Linked DNA regions of Homo sapiens: all the other regions are linked to region 1. The links are contacts of gene promoters, found by promoter capture Hi-C in human tissues and cell types (Jung and others, 2019). All regions are on one chromosome and are shown on one strand. Each heading gives the region's core, a stretch centred on a gene start or on the middle of the fragment in contact. The rest is flanking DNA. Distances are from core to core; before and after follow the strand shown.

Region 1 (3,178 bases), core at 637-3,136:
AGCACCAGGAATAAGGAAGACAGTTCTGCTGAGTCTCCACCCAGAGATGCACAAAGAAGTGGAAGAGAAGAGGAGGTGGGGTGATAGGAGGTGACTAGCAGGAATAACACACTCTAGGACAATGCTTGTCATCACTACTCTCTTCCAGCCTGAAGTCAAGAAAGCAGAGTGGAAGATCCAGGCGCCTACCCCTAAGGCACATGAGGAAGGGGAGAAGAGGGAGAGCAAGACACGGAGGGAATCTACCACACTAGAGCAAACCCTCACCCACTTCTCGGCTGGGTTCCCAGTAAGGCTTCCCACCCACTCCAGCGTTTCTCCCCCACTCCCTTACCCCACCCCAACTGCGGACTAAGAGGAGCCCACCCCGGAGTCCAAGTTTTGAATCTGGTCCGAGGATCAAAATGATAAATGTTTCCAAAACGTTGACATATGAAAAGTAAATATTTGGTTGCACAATTGGGGCTAAAACTAGGGTCAATCCACCCCATTCTCCAAGCGCCTCTCCATTCGCTGCCAAGCCCAGGATCTGAGGCTGAGTGCGGTTTGTAAGATTATAACGCTCGGTCTCATTTGAAGGGCTGTCAGCATTTCCATTCTCCGGCCCCTTCGTTCGGGGAGGCATTTATAACCGAGCCATAAAAAATTCACCCGGGGCTGCAACTTGGCATCTCCCAGACTGCGCTCCAGGCAGAGCGGGTTTTGCGAGCACCCACTCTGAATCTGTCCAGTTCCTCAGAAGTTAAACCTTCACCCACACTCTCAACTTTCCTTGCAAGGGCAGCCAGAGAGCGGCTGGCCCATTCTGATCTCCAAGCAGGTCAACAGTCTCGGGCCCTCTCTCCCGCCTCCGCGCCTTGACGGCCCATCATCCTATAGCTTTCTCCTTCGCCCGCCCCCCTTTTTAACGAGCGCAGACCCCTGACCCTCACCCTAAGACCTTGAGGCTGCAGTGCTCTTGCCTCCCCTCGCCTCTCCTCAGCTACTCCTTGGAAGCTGTCAGCGGGCCCTGCGTCTGGAACCCTCACCCCTGGAGAGGCACTGCTCTTTGCCCATCGCTGGGGGTTTCGAGACCTCTCTTTCCAGATCTGACCAAGCCTACAGACCCCCAGCTCGGAGAGTGAGGGATCGTATCCAGGAAGGGATGAGAATAGAGACTGCATCCAGGGAGGCCGAGGGGAAAGGACGGATCTGGCGCCTGGGGCCCCCTCGGTGGGACCCAGGTGGGTGGCCCGCGTGGGGTGGGGCAGGGGTACTCACAGGCGCTCAGCGTTGCGGGGGATGCCCCGAGGAACCGCGCGGAGGCCCAGCCCGTGGCAGTCCACGCTGGCAGCGGAGCAGGTACACTTGGTGGGGCAGGCGACGGCTGGAGGCCCACTCAGGACGCTCGCCAGCGCCAAGGCCAGCGCCAGGCGGGCGCGCACGGCGGCGCCGACCCCTGCCCACCCGGGGGCCATGGTGTGCAGGGCCCCGCTCCTGGAGGAGGCTGCCTCTGCGGGGCAAGACGCGTGGAGCCCGAGGAGGCGCGCGGGGAGCGCGGGCGGCCTGGGGAGCGGGCGGCGGAGTTAGCGCGGAGGAGGGGCGAGCTCGGTGCTCAGGCGCACGGGGCGCGGGCGGAGCGGGGCGCTCCGGGCGGCGGCGGCGGCAGCAACAGCAGCTCCATCGGCGGGGCCGGCGCTGCCCCGCTGCGCATCGCTGGGAGTGCCCAGGTGCGGAGCGCCCCCTGGCCCCGCTGGCCCGCGGGCCGGGTTGGGGACCTGGGGCGAGCGCAATGGGGCGTGGCGCCCGGGGAGGTCCGGCTTGGGGCTGGGCTGGGGAGCGCGGCGGCTGCGGCTGGGGCACGGGGCGGCCGGGTGAGCTGGCCGGCGCTCGCTCTCTCCATTCAGTGAGCACGGCAGACACCGGAGACGCGGGGCCCACCCCTCCGGCCCCCCCCCGACCAAGAAACGCCAACTCCGCCTCCCATTGGCTGCGCCGCGCGTCATGTCGACTAAGTTGGGAACTTTGCTGGAGCGACCGAGAGCCTGGAGGGAGGAGGCAGTAGAGGAGGGAGAGAGAAGGAACCAGGGAAGGAAAGGGGCTCGGCCAGCAGGGCCCCTGGAAAGAAACACTGAAACTCATTCACTGTTAAGATCCAAGGACGGATAAGGCTCCTGACACTTTTTTTTTTTTAATTTTTGCACTGAGCTGAGCACTCTACTCATATTCTTTACTTAAGTCCACGATCTTCCAAGGGGTCGTCTGAAAACAGCTCAGAGAAGTGAAGCGACTTGCTGGAGGTCGCACAGCTGCTAGGGACGCCAAACCATGGCAGTGTCGCCCACGAAGCCGCTTCCCTACCGCACCTAGTACTCATGGCAGAGATCCACAATTTTGCCTGAAGAGCCTTGGTTGACACCAATGTACTCCACAGCTACACACACACACACACCGTGGTCCATGTTGTTGAGGTCACTGCTGGCAAACCTTACCCGGAAACTTGCCCTGCTTTGCCCAGACCCAGCGCTTGGTGGACTGGTAAAAGTAGTGATGGCAGCGACTTGGACCCCTGGATTGACAATGCCTTGTTCCATCCTCGGGTTTCTGCTTCCTGACTGGGTGACTCTGGGCCAATCGTGTCATCTCTGAGCCTTCGTTTTCTCAAATCCGGGGCCACAGTCCTACCTGGCCTCACCTCCCTGGGTTGTTTGGAGCATCACAGAAGAGAACGTGTTTTTGCAAAAGTCATTCGCAGACGAGGCATCCCTTCTGTCCCCAGCGCCTTCTTTCTTCCAGCGCCCGCTTTAAATTGGCTAGGTCTGAGCTTTTCCAGATGCCAGTGGGGAGGGGCGTGTGCGTTAGAGGCTCCATAAATACTTGTAGGAATGATTTTGTTTGTTTGTTTGAAAGGAAAGGGCAGGAACTGGAGGAAGTATTGCCCAGATTTCCTTGAGGTCCCCTCACACTGAGAAGGCCTGAATGAGCCCTGCATATATATACACACACACTGGTGCCTACGTATTCACAGCCACGCACACACTCTCACATACTCAGGCTCACACACACCCATTTATACACCGGCAATCACACACACGTGTACATGCATGCTCGCACACACACTCACATAGTGACAACTATACTCCTGAGAGCGCTTCTCTTTTCTTTCATAAGAATACTATTCTGATTTCTTCTACCTCAT
Region 2 (2,874 bases), core at 134-2,633, 200 kb after region 1:
CCAGTTTGTGGTATTTGTTGTGGTAGCCCTAACAAACTAATATACTTACCAATTTGCACAAGATAAAACTATATGTGGAATGTTTCATTTATATTTTACAAATGGCTGGCTTGCCCTTAATTCCTCCTTCCTGAGTGTGTTTTGGAATGAAAGCTAATGTCATTGAGGCCCCAAATATCTTAACTGAATCAGATCAACCTGAGGCCATTTGGGTATGTTGTGCAAAAATCAATCCTTTAAATAGCCCTAAAACATGGTCCAAGCAGCTGCTTCCCCCACTCCACACTCTGGCTCTTGAAACTAGGGAAGCATTTTTGGTCATCAACATGAACATATGACTTAGCTCCCCTTTCTCTCCCCCCAGCCCCTGAATTGGAAGGTTTCACAGGAGAGATGGGGAATGAACTGGAAGTACTTTACACTAGTCATCTTGCAGAGAAAATCTTAAAGCCTTTTTCTTCTCTCTCCATTTTTTTTCTTAAATTTGGCAACTTTGAAAGTCATTACTCTTCTCTTTCCCCAGCAGGCTTCACCCTGAAGGCATCCCTTCTGGCTGCCCCCAGGAAAGTTAAATCCCCAGTCCTCCTCTCCTCTGTTTAGTAGCAAAGCCTCTCTTTTACTCTTTTAGAACTTGGATACCAGATGATAATACCAAGGCCCTGAGATCTTAAAGTGAATTTATCAGAGCATTTTCTCAACAAAAGCCAATGTTTCAAATAAGAGATTCTGATATCAAGTGTTGAGAGACTAAAATTATTTCTCCATCTATATGAGAGAAGGAAAATAAAAAGAAAGCAAATAAAAGAAAAGGTGTTTGAATACAAGAATGTTAGATCCTACAATATTTTTTGTCAGAGAAGAGAGCCTGGTGTTTTGTGTCCTAAATAACTAGACAAGCTTACTAGCCTAGGAAGTCTAGACTGAAAAATCACATAGCTCTGCCTGAGTGGGGGTCAGCTAATCCCATTCCCAGAGAGAAAAAAAAAAACATGTTTTCCTTTTGAATTAACATTAACTCACATTAAACACACGCACACATACACAGTAAAATTATATTTAGAAATGTTTTAGCTCTGGCTTCTCAGCAGGGGTAAGTGCCTCAATTTCCTGCAAATCATTGTCAAGTGTCTAGACAGGAGAAGTGGAAGCAAAGATAAGAGATCCTGAATTTCAACAGAGGGGCCATCAAGCTAAACCGAACTCAGCTGTGCTTTTTCACTTGGCAACAAGCGATAACCCTCTGATAGCCACATATCTTACATGTTGCTTTTGACTTCTGATAAGAAAGAGGAAAGTGGGAAACAATGATGAGCGTTGGTGATAAACACCCGGGCTGGCATTTGCCTCAGTCTTTTTAAATTAACTGACCCCCAGAGGAATCCCAAACCCTATAGCCCTATCTAGTATCTGGAAAGGTTTATGAGGATTTGAAGCTACAGCTGAAGATGACCAATACTTTAAAGAGTTTGTGAATTAGCACCTTATATGTAAACACACCTCTAAGTCAATCACACTTTGTAGAATTCCCAAAGTCTCAATACCCTTCCTGAAAGCAGGTTTTACAATCTCTTAATCTTTAGGAACTTGACAGGGCCTAAGAGGTCAGCAGCAGATCATATATACCACATTAGATTCACTATGGGAATACCCAAAACCAGTAGCAGTTTCTTCCCTTGCAAACATTCATAGAGTATTCGAGGACCTCATCTCTCACTGTGCAGCAAGACTTGGACGTGTCATTTGCTGAATTCATTCCTCATGCATCCATACATACGTCAAGTACTTTTTTTGAGACCTTTATTGAATAAGGTGGAAGTCAAATGGGTGTTCCGCAATCAGGTCACCTAATTTGAAACTCTGACTCTATTATTCACTAGCTGTGCAAATTTCAGAGAGTTGTTTAACCTCTTGGACCTCACTTTTCCTATCTGCAAAATGGGGATAATGACAAGACTTACCTCTTAGGATTGCTGTGAGAGTTAGAGAGTTATAGATGCAAAACACTTAGAACAGCGTTTCAATATATGATAAGTTCTTAATGAATTTAAATTCTCTCTCTTATGTGCCAAACACAAGTCTTTGGTTAATCAGAAGATGAAAAGATAAATGAAAAGAATATTTTAGGGATGATGGTGAAGAAGAGCAGCTCACCAACTGCTTAAGAATTAAAAATCAGTCAGCACGGAGGTACCAAGTCAGATCCTAGCACTTTTCTAGACTTATAATACAATATTTTGTAAGACAGTGCTAACTTAGGTTAAACTTAGAACAAATCATTAAACAGGTTGTCTAGAAGTTCAAAGAGTGAGAGATCACTGTGAACTGAAGGAGCAGGCAGGACTTCATGGAGGCATGACTTGTCCTGGGCAGTGTTGGACAAGTAGAATATAGATGAGCAGATAGAGGAGGAGGTTACTGGGGAAACAGCATCAAAAGCAGAGAGGTAGATATGATTGTGACATATGTTGCACTGAACATCCTGCACTAATTTTCAGTGGTCAGTGCTGTGACTGGCTTCCCACCATCATTATCCTGTGCCTTATACCTTTAGGTGGGCTTCTGCACAAGCCTCAGGCTACCTTTGGGTTCATCCCTTCTAGTACATCCTGCACACCCTCCCCCAGGTCAGCCTTTTCCAACACTGCTGCCCTCTTATCTCTAGCCTGCCTCTAAGTATTCAGTGCTTGTCTGTTCCCCCCATCTCTACCCTCACCTCTATGCCTACCTTATTGCTTTCAGGGTAAAACCAAGATCCTTAGCCTAATAGTCAACCCTCTTCAGAATCTGAAATTAAACTGCTTTCAGTTATGTCTCCTAGCATACTTTTCTTATCATTTTTCTGACAATTCTTCCATCTAGGCCTCTATTTCCTGC
Region 3 (2,897 bases), core at 95-2,594, 140 kb after region 1:
CATGGAAGAAGATACTGTCCATTCTGTCTCTCAGTGTCCTTTATACAATGACTCATATGATAAATGCCTAAGTCTGGTTCCAGGAAAGAGTTTGTCTCTACAGAAAAATTTTTATGTTGTCCATTGTCATACAACCAAAACTAAGTAACCCAACATGTTTCCACTTCTTCTTTGCTGCCAGAAAGCTTGTGCCAAGATGTATTACCCAAGTGTTATAATTAGCCCCAATCAGGTGCCTAAAGCCATCAGCTTCTTTTGCATCCTTCAGACAGTCCCAGTTTTCTTTTACCCTTGAATGGTTTATTCTATGGTGATTGAAGCTGTAAGTTTCTTCAGTCTCTCTGGAAGAGTTGGGTCACCTGACCTTTTAATGTCTCTTTCAACTACAAAATTCTATGAAGTCTTCAGTAACAATCATTAGAGCAAGATGATTAGCTCTAAATGGAACTTATAGCCTCTGATTCCAATAAGTGGAGGAGAGATGAAGAGATTTAAAATGCATTAAGAACCTAAATAGGCTAAGCGCTCTACCACTCTAGTGTTCTTAAGCTCACCAGCCTGGGAGTACAGATGTGGCCATGTTAACATTCGCAGCCACATCTGCAACTCAGTGTCCCCACCACCCCTTGCAAAGAAACAGAGCTTCAGAGTCTCTCTTGATTATTCCTGGGAGTCAATAGCAGTGTCTCATGAGAATTCCATGTTCTTGGGATGTTGCTGTCATGAATACAGGTTTTGTCAGCTGGGCATGTTCCCATCCAGTCAACCCTCACTGCTCCTCTGGTAGGCTCTGACCTACGTAGAATGAAGTCTTCTGAACAAAAATCCCAAACATGCAAACCATATGCCAAAATATTGCTATATATTTTCTTTCCCTTGGTGCCATTCGATGAAGTAATGGGAAAACCATCTCCCCACTCCTTCCAGTGGAGTAAGAATGGGTATAGTATGGGCAGAATTGCCCATGAAAAGAATATCAAGGGTGAAGACCATTGTTTCTAGATCTGAGCCTTAAGGAGCTTCAACTCAAGCTGGCTGGGGAGGCAGCAAAGGAGACTGAAGAGGAGGAGCCAGAAAGGTGGGAACAAAATGCAAGAGAGGATGGTGTTGAAAACTCTGAGAGACGAACACGTTTCACACAGGAGCACCAAACACTGCTACAAGCGTTATTAAGCTTTCACAGCACCAAGAGGCCAGTGCTGTCCCTCCCGTGTTGCAGGTGAAGAATCTAGGCTCAGACAGATTAATGTGGTTTGCCCAAGAGCATAAAGCTGGTTAGCATCAGGCTGAGACTCAAAGCCAAGTTTCCTATGCTCTGGCCATGACACACCTGTGTGAGATGGATTGCAGAACACGCCTTTTCTGTTCCTCTAATCTTGTCAATGTTTACTTCCCAAACTTACAATAGACTATGTTTCTATTATTACGCTTCCAAAGTCAACTTCTCCCTCTGACAAATGCCAAGGACAGCAACTGAATGGCTGAAGAAATCAGATGCCCATCCTCTTATTTGGGCTATGGCAATAAGGAGGAAAGAACTTACAGGGCAGATTTGAAACTGAGATAGGGTTTGGAGGTTTCTCTTTTTAATGTTGTTTTCTACCAGTATACTAGTAGATATAAATATGCCTCATAAAATTATAAAGCATATATATATATATATATATATATATATATGAGATTATCAGCTTTATTGGAGCATGAGAAAAGAATGGATCTTTGGGGATTCGGTATTTGCTTATTCTAGCTACAAGCCAACATCAATACATAAAGCAAGATTGAGAAACTCTATAATAATATTCTATTTTTACTGAGAGAAGTCTCTGCCCATCTGTGTCATCTGTGTGACTGACTTTTTTTGGAAGTGGGGTGGATTAAAAAGACTAGAAATACTCTGACAGTTAGGAGACCAAATATTGTTTTGAGGGGAAAAGCATGTTATCTGAATATTTTTCTAGGTTTTGGCCTTCCATTACTGCAGCCTCCTTGACTCTTTAAAAAGGGGCCAACAGTATTTTGAAGCTCCTGCGAGCAAGCCGGAGGAAGCTCAGTCAGACTGGGCACTCAACCTATGCTGCTCCTGAGTTCATTAACATAAGACATGTATTGAGGCATCTCATACCACCAGGAAGCTTTATTTCCCCAGAATCACAGGATAGTTAGAGAGAGTAAACACCCTGAAGACCTGGCCGGTGTTTTTAATATTTTTTTAAGGATATGGAACCCTTTGTGTGTGTGTGTAAATATAACAAGTTGAAAAATATTATCTTGACATTTGACATCTTAATCCCTCTAAGAGAGGAAGCTATCATTGTTTAAAAAATACCTTGGTAAACATGCCTGGGATATGACATCAGTGGGAGCCAAGACTTCAGAGGAGAAAGAAGACAAACTATTCTGGATGAGAACAGAGGAGGGACATGGGCAAATTTTTGTTTTTGTTCCTGAATGGGAGGAGGACTGGTGAGTGAGGGGGAAAGAATGGAGACAGGACTGAGAAGAACCAGAAATTAAAATAATAGTAGTAATAGCCTAACATGTACACGTATATGAGATCTATCTATCTATCTATCTATCTATCTATCTATCTATCTATCTATCTATCTATCATCTATATATCTATCATCCATCATGTATCTATCTATTTGCATATATAAGCTATAATATCTGGCTCTGTTCTAATTGTTTTACTTACATTAACTCATTCAATCTTCATATGAATCTAAGTAGATACTATAATACTATGGTCCTCATTTTAAATATGAGAAACTGAGGCACAGAAAGGCTAAGTAACTTGCCCAAATCCCACAACTAGCAAATATGGAGGAGTCAAGGAGTAGGGGAAATGGCATCTTAAAACCACAAATGTCAGCTATTGAAGTTAATTTGCTTTGCTG
Region 4 (3,218 bases), core at 99-2,598, 220 kb before region 1:
TTCTGTCCCCCTGAGACAGCAAGAACAAACTCTCCTCTTCTTCCTCCTCTCTAGCCTACTCCATGTGAGGAGGACAAGGATGAAGACCTTTATGGTGATCCATTTCCATTTAATGAATTGTAAGTATATTTTCTCTTCCTTGTGTTTTTCCTAATAATTTTCTTTTCTCTAGTTTATTGTAAGAATACAGTATGTAGGCCGGGCGCGGTGGCTCACACCTGTAATCCCAGCACTTTGGGAGGCTGAGGCGGGCGGATCACAAGGTCAGGAGTTCAAGACCAGCCTGGCCAAGATGGTGAAAACCCGTCTCTACTGAAAAAATACAAAAAATTAGCCTGGTGCAGTGGCTGGTGCCTGTAATCCCAGCTACTTGGGAAGCTGAGGCAGGAGAATCACTTGAACTCAGAGGGCGGAGGTTGCAGTGAGCCGAGATCACACCACTGCACTCCAGCCTGGGTGACAGAGTGAGACCCCGTCTCAAAAAAACAAAAAACAAAAAACAAAAAACAGTAATACATATAAAATATCTGTTCATTAACTGTTTATGTTATCAGTAAGGCTTCTGATCAACATTAGGCTATTAGTAGCTAAGTTTTCGGGGAGTCAAAAGTTAAACAGAGATTTTTGACTGTGTGGGGGGTCACCACCCCAAACCCCTGTGTTGTTCAAGGGTCAATGTATATCAAAATGTCACGGAGAGATGGGTTATCACTTGATGGGCTTATATGTGTTTTCTACATTTTCCAAAATTTCCAGAATAAATGTCCACAACTTCTTCAATTACTAAAAAAAAAAAAAAAAAGTGTCATTGTAAAAAAATATTATTTTAAAAAATAGCAACACTTTTTAAGTTTCCTTTTTTAAGGCTGTGTCTCTACACACAGCCAGTTTGTTGCCTGCCTTGCCAAGTTCATTGACAACCACAATCTCCAACCCATACAGGATCAAGATTCAGCTTGAGTCTGTGCATTGGAGAATCCTAGGAAACCTTGCTTTACTTTCTAGGGGCATGATCTGGGGCCTTGTGTTCATTTTGCTTCACCCACAGGGATCACATGCTGTGCCTACCCACTCCTGACCTCAACCACCCACTGCTTCAATTTCAACACATCAGGTTACAAATACAGGGTTCATCGATAAGGGGCTTATGTCCAAATGCAATGTCTCCCCAGGCCCAAGTCCAACGCAAACCAGCCAAAAGATTCCCTGGCTTCCTATTCTCCTTTCTACGCTCTGTTTCTGGTTTCCTCTCCACCTTCAGGTTTCATGTCGTTTTGTACCTAAGGCATGTCAGGAACTCTGGGGGCTGCCTTCACAAATATATTTCTCCTTGGATACCCACCACCGATAAAGTGAAGATTTGTATTCCCATCTTACTGAAGAGGAACCTGAGGTTCAGAGTAGTCAAATGACCAAGCAGAAATCACAGACCCGGTGGGGAATAAAAGGCCAGTCTCCCGCAAACCCAGCACCCTTCCTACTTCACCAACTTCACTCATTTCCTTGTTTTCCTTGTTACTCTCCAGCTTCTCCCTCCTATCACCTTCCTTTCTTTACCCTTCATCTTCATCCTTCTAAGAAATATGTCTAAAATCAGAAAAAATGAGCACTAATGAAAATAACTGTGCTAGGAGCTTTTGCACACAATATCTCAATACATAATTTCAGCTACTCAGTGTGGTAGGTGATATGTATTCATTCCAATATTTATTGAACACTGATGGTGTGGCAGATATCATACCAGACACGCCAAGTGAAATAAGGAAAACAAACCCAATTCCTGTCCTCAAGGAGCTGTAGTCTAGGAAATATTCCTATTATTTGTTTTCAAAAAGAAATAAACTAAGACTTGGAGGAATTAATTAGTTTTTTAAATGCCATAGTTCAAACTCAAAATCCTTTATCACACTGGATTTTAAGCTTTCTCATGGCACAGAATTCTGGAGGAGATTGGAAAAAAAAATTGCTTCCTAAAATTCAGTCTCTGCCTTTAGCTCCCTAAACAAGAAAGAAGAGAAGGCGAGACAGAGACAGTGACAGAGACAGAAAAGCAGATCCTTGGCTACTCATCCTGCCGTATCTCAAGGCAATGAATCACTGATGAATTCTTTCCTTTTCTATCTGGGAGAAAAAATGCTTTAAGGAGCCCCAAGTTTTCAGGCCAGGGTTTGTCCAGGTGGTGTGTAACCCACAGAATCAAAGGGATGAGGCTGTTGTTCCACACCTGCCTGCTTTCAGCTCTCTTTTGTTTTCAGATCTTATAGTTCTAGCTAAACAAAGAAGTTCTCCTTCTCATCCTTGGTCTCCAGGCAGAGAAAATGTCAAGTTCATCAGCTGAAACGAAAACTCCCACTGTCCAGGCTAAGAGACCAGGGTCAGGGATGGGATCCCAAACTTTGAGGTGGAAGATGGAGAAAGGGTGGGGGAGGAGGGGGGGAGGGAGGAGGAGGAAGGAGGAGAGGGAGGAGGAAGGAGGAGGAGGAAGAAGGAGGAAGAAGGAGGAGGAGGAAGGAGGAGGAGAGAAGGGGAGGAGGAGGAGGGAGGAGGAGGAGGAAGGAGGAGAGAAGAGGAGGAGGGAAGAGGAGGAGGAGGGAAGAGGAGGAGGAGGGAAGAGGAGGAGGAGGGAAGAGGAGGAGGAGGGAAGAGGAGGAGGAGGGAAGAGGAGGAGGAGGAGGGAAGAGGAGGAGAGAAGAGGAGGAAGAGGGAAGAAGAGGGAAGGGGAAGAGGAGGAGGAGGGAGGAAGAGGGAAGGGGAAGAGGAGGAGGGAGGAGGAGGAGGGAGGGAGGAGGAGGAGGGAGGGAGGAGGAAAGGTGGAGGAGGAGGAAGAGCAAAGGGAAGAGTGAAGAAGAAGAGGAGGAAGAGGAATGGCAAAGGGAAGAGAGAGAAGAGGGAGAAGGAAGAAGAGGAGGAGATTATGCACGACACTTGTTAAAATTGGTAAGAAAGACTTTATTTAAGGGGGGCTACTGCAACGGGGGTTTGCATAGGGGAGAGAGATGGGCTCAACTCCAATATAAGGACAAGTGGACATGTATAGCTAAGGAGCAGGTAGGAGTCTGGTGGAAGGAAAATTACTAGGAGGAAACATCAAGGCTAGGGGGATACTAGCCAGACCCACTCAACAGGCTTCTTGCTAAAACTGGACTAACTAGGCCAAAGTCAGGGCCCAAAGTCAGGGCCTAGTCAAAAAGAGGCCTCAGAGGAGCCTGACTCAAGTT

What was found. Contacts are between HindIII fragments. The study calls those that stand out against the background at their distance.
Region 2: a fragment that was not itself captured here is called in contact with the fragment with the promoter of SLIT3 in region 1 in 2 of the 25 tissues and cell types used here (bladder and mesenchymal stem cells).
Region 3: a contact is called between a fragment that was not itself captured here and the fragment with the promoter of SLIT3 in region 1, in 2 of the 25 tissues and cell types used here (mesenchymal stem cells and small bowel).
Region 4: a fragment that was not itself captured here is called in contact with the fragment with the promoter of SLIT3 in region 1 in 4 of the 25 tissues and cell types used here (bladder, heart right ventricle, liver and 1 more).

Annotation. Positions count from the first base shown.
Region 1 is chr5:169,299,253-169,302,430 of GRCh38, forward strand. It overlaps SLIT3 (slit guidance ligand 3), which reads right to left and starts at 1,887. Exons shown (of 36, transcript NM_003062.4): 1 at 1,261-1,887. The coding sequence starts at 1,457. The HindIII fragment of the contact is 12,348 bases long and covers 1-3,178 here.
Region 2 is chr5:169,502,901-169,505,774 of GRCh38, forward strand. All of the region lies in intron 2 of LOC105377714 (a long non-coding RNA gene), which reads right to left. All of the region lies in intron 3 of LOC105377715 (a long non-coding RNA gene), which reads left to right. Among named protein-coding and RNA genes, the nearest start is that of SPDL1, 79 kb to the right of the region's middle. The HindIII fragment of the contact is 4,832 bases long and covers 1-2,874 here.
Region 3 is chr5:169,438,211-169,441,107 of GRCh38, forward strand. No RefSeq gene overlaps it. Among named protein-coding and RNA genes, the nearest start is that of SLIT3, 140 kb to the left of the region's middle. The HindIII fragment of the contact is 3,494 bases long and covers 1-2,897 here.
Region 4 is chr5:169,077,060-169,080,277 of GRCh38, forward strand. All of the region lies in intron 4 of SLIT3 (slit guidance ligand 3), which reads right to left. It overlaps LOC105377712 (a long non-coding RNA gene), which reads left to right and starts at 2,825. Exons shown (of 4, transcript XR_941191.3): 1 at 2,825-2,937. The HindIII fragment of the contact is 5,501 bases long and covers 1-3,218 here.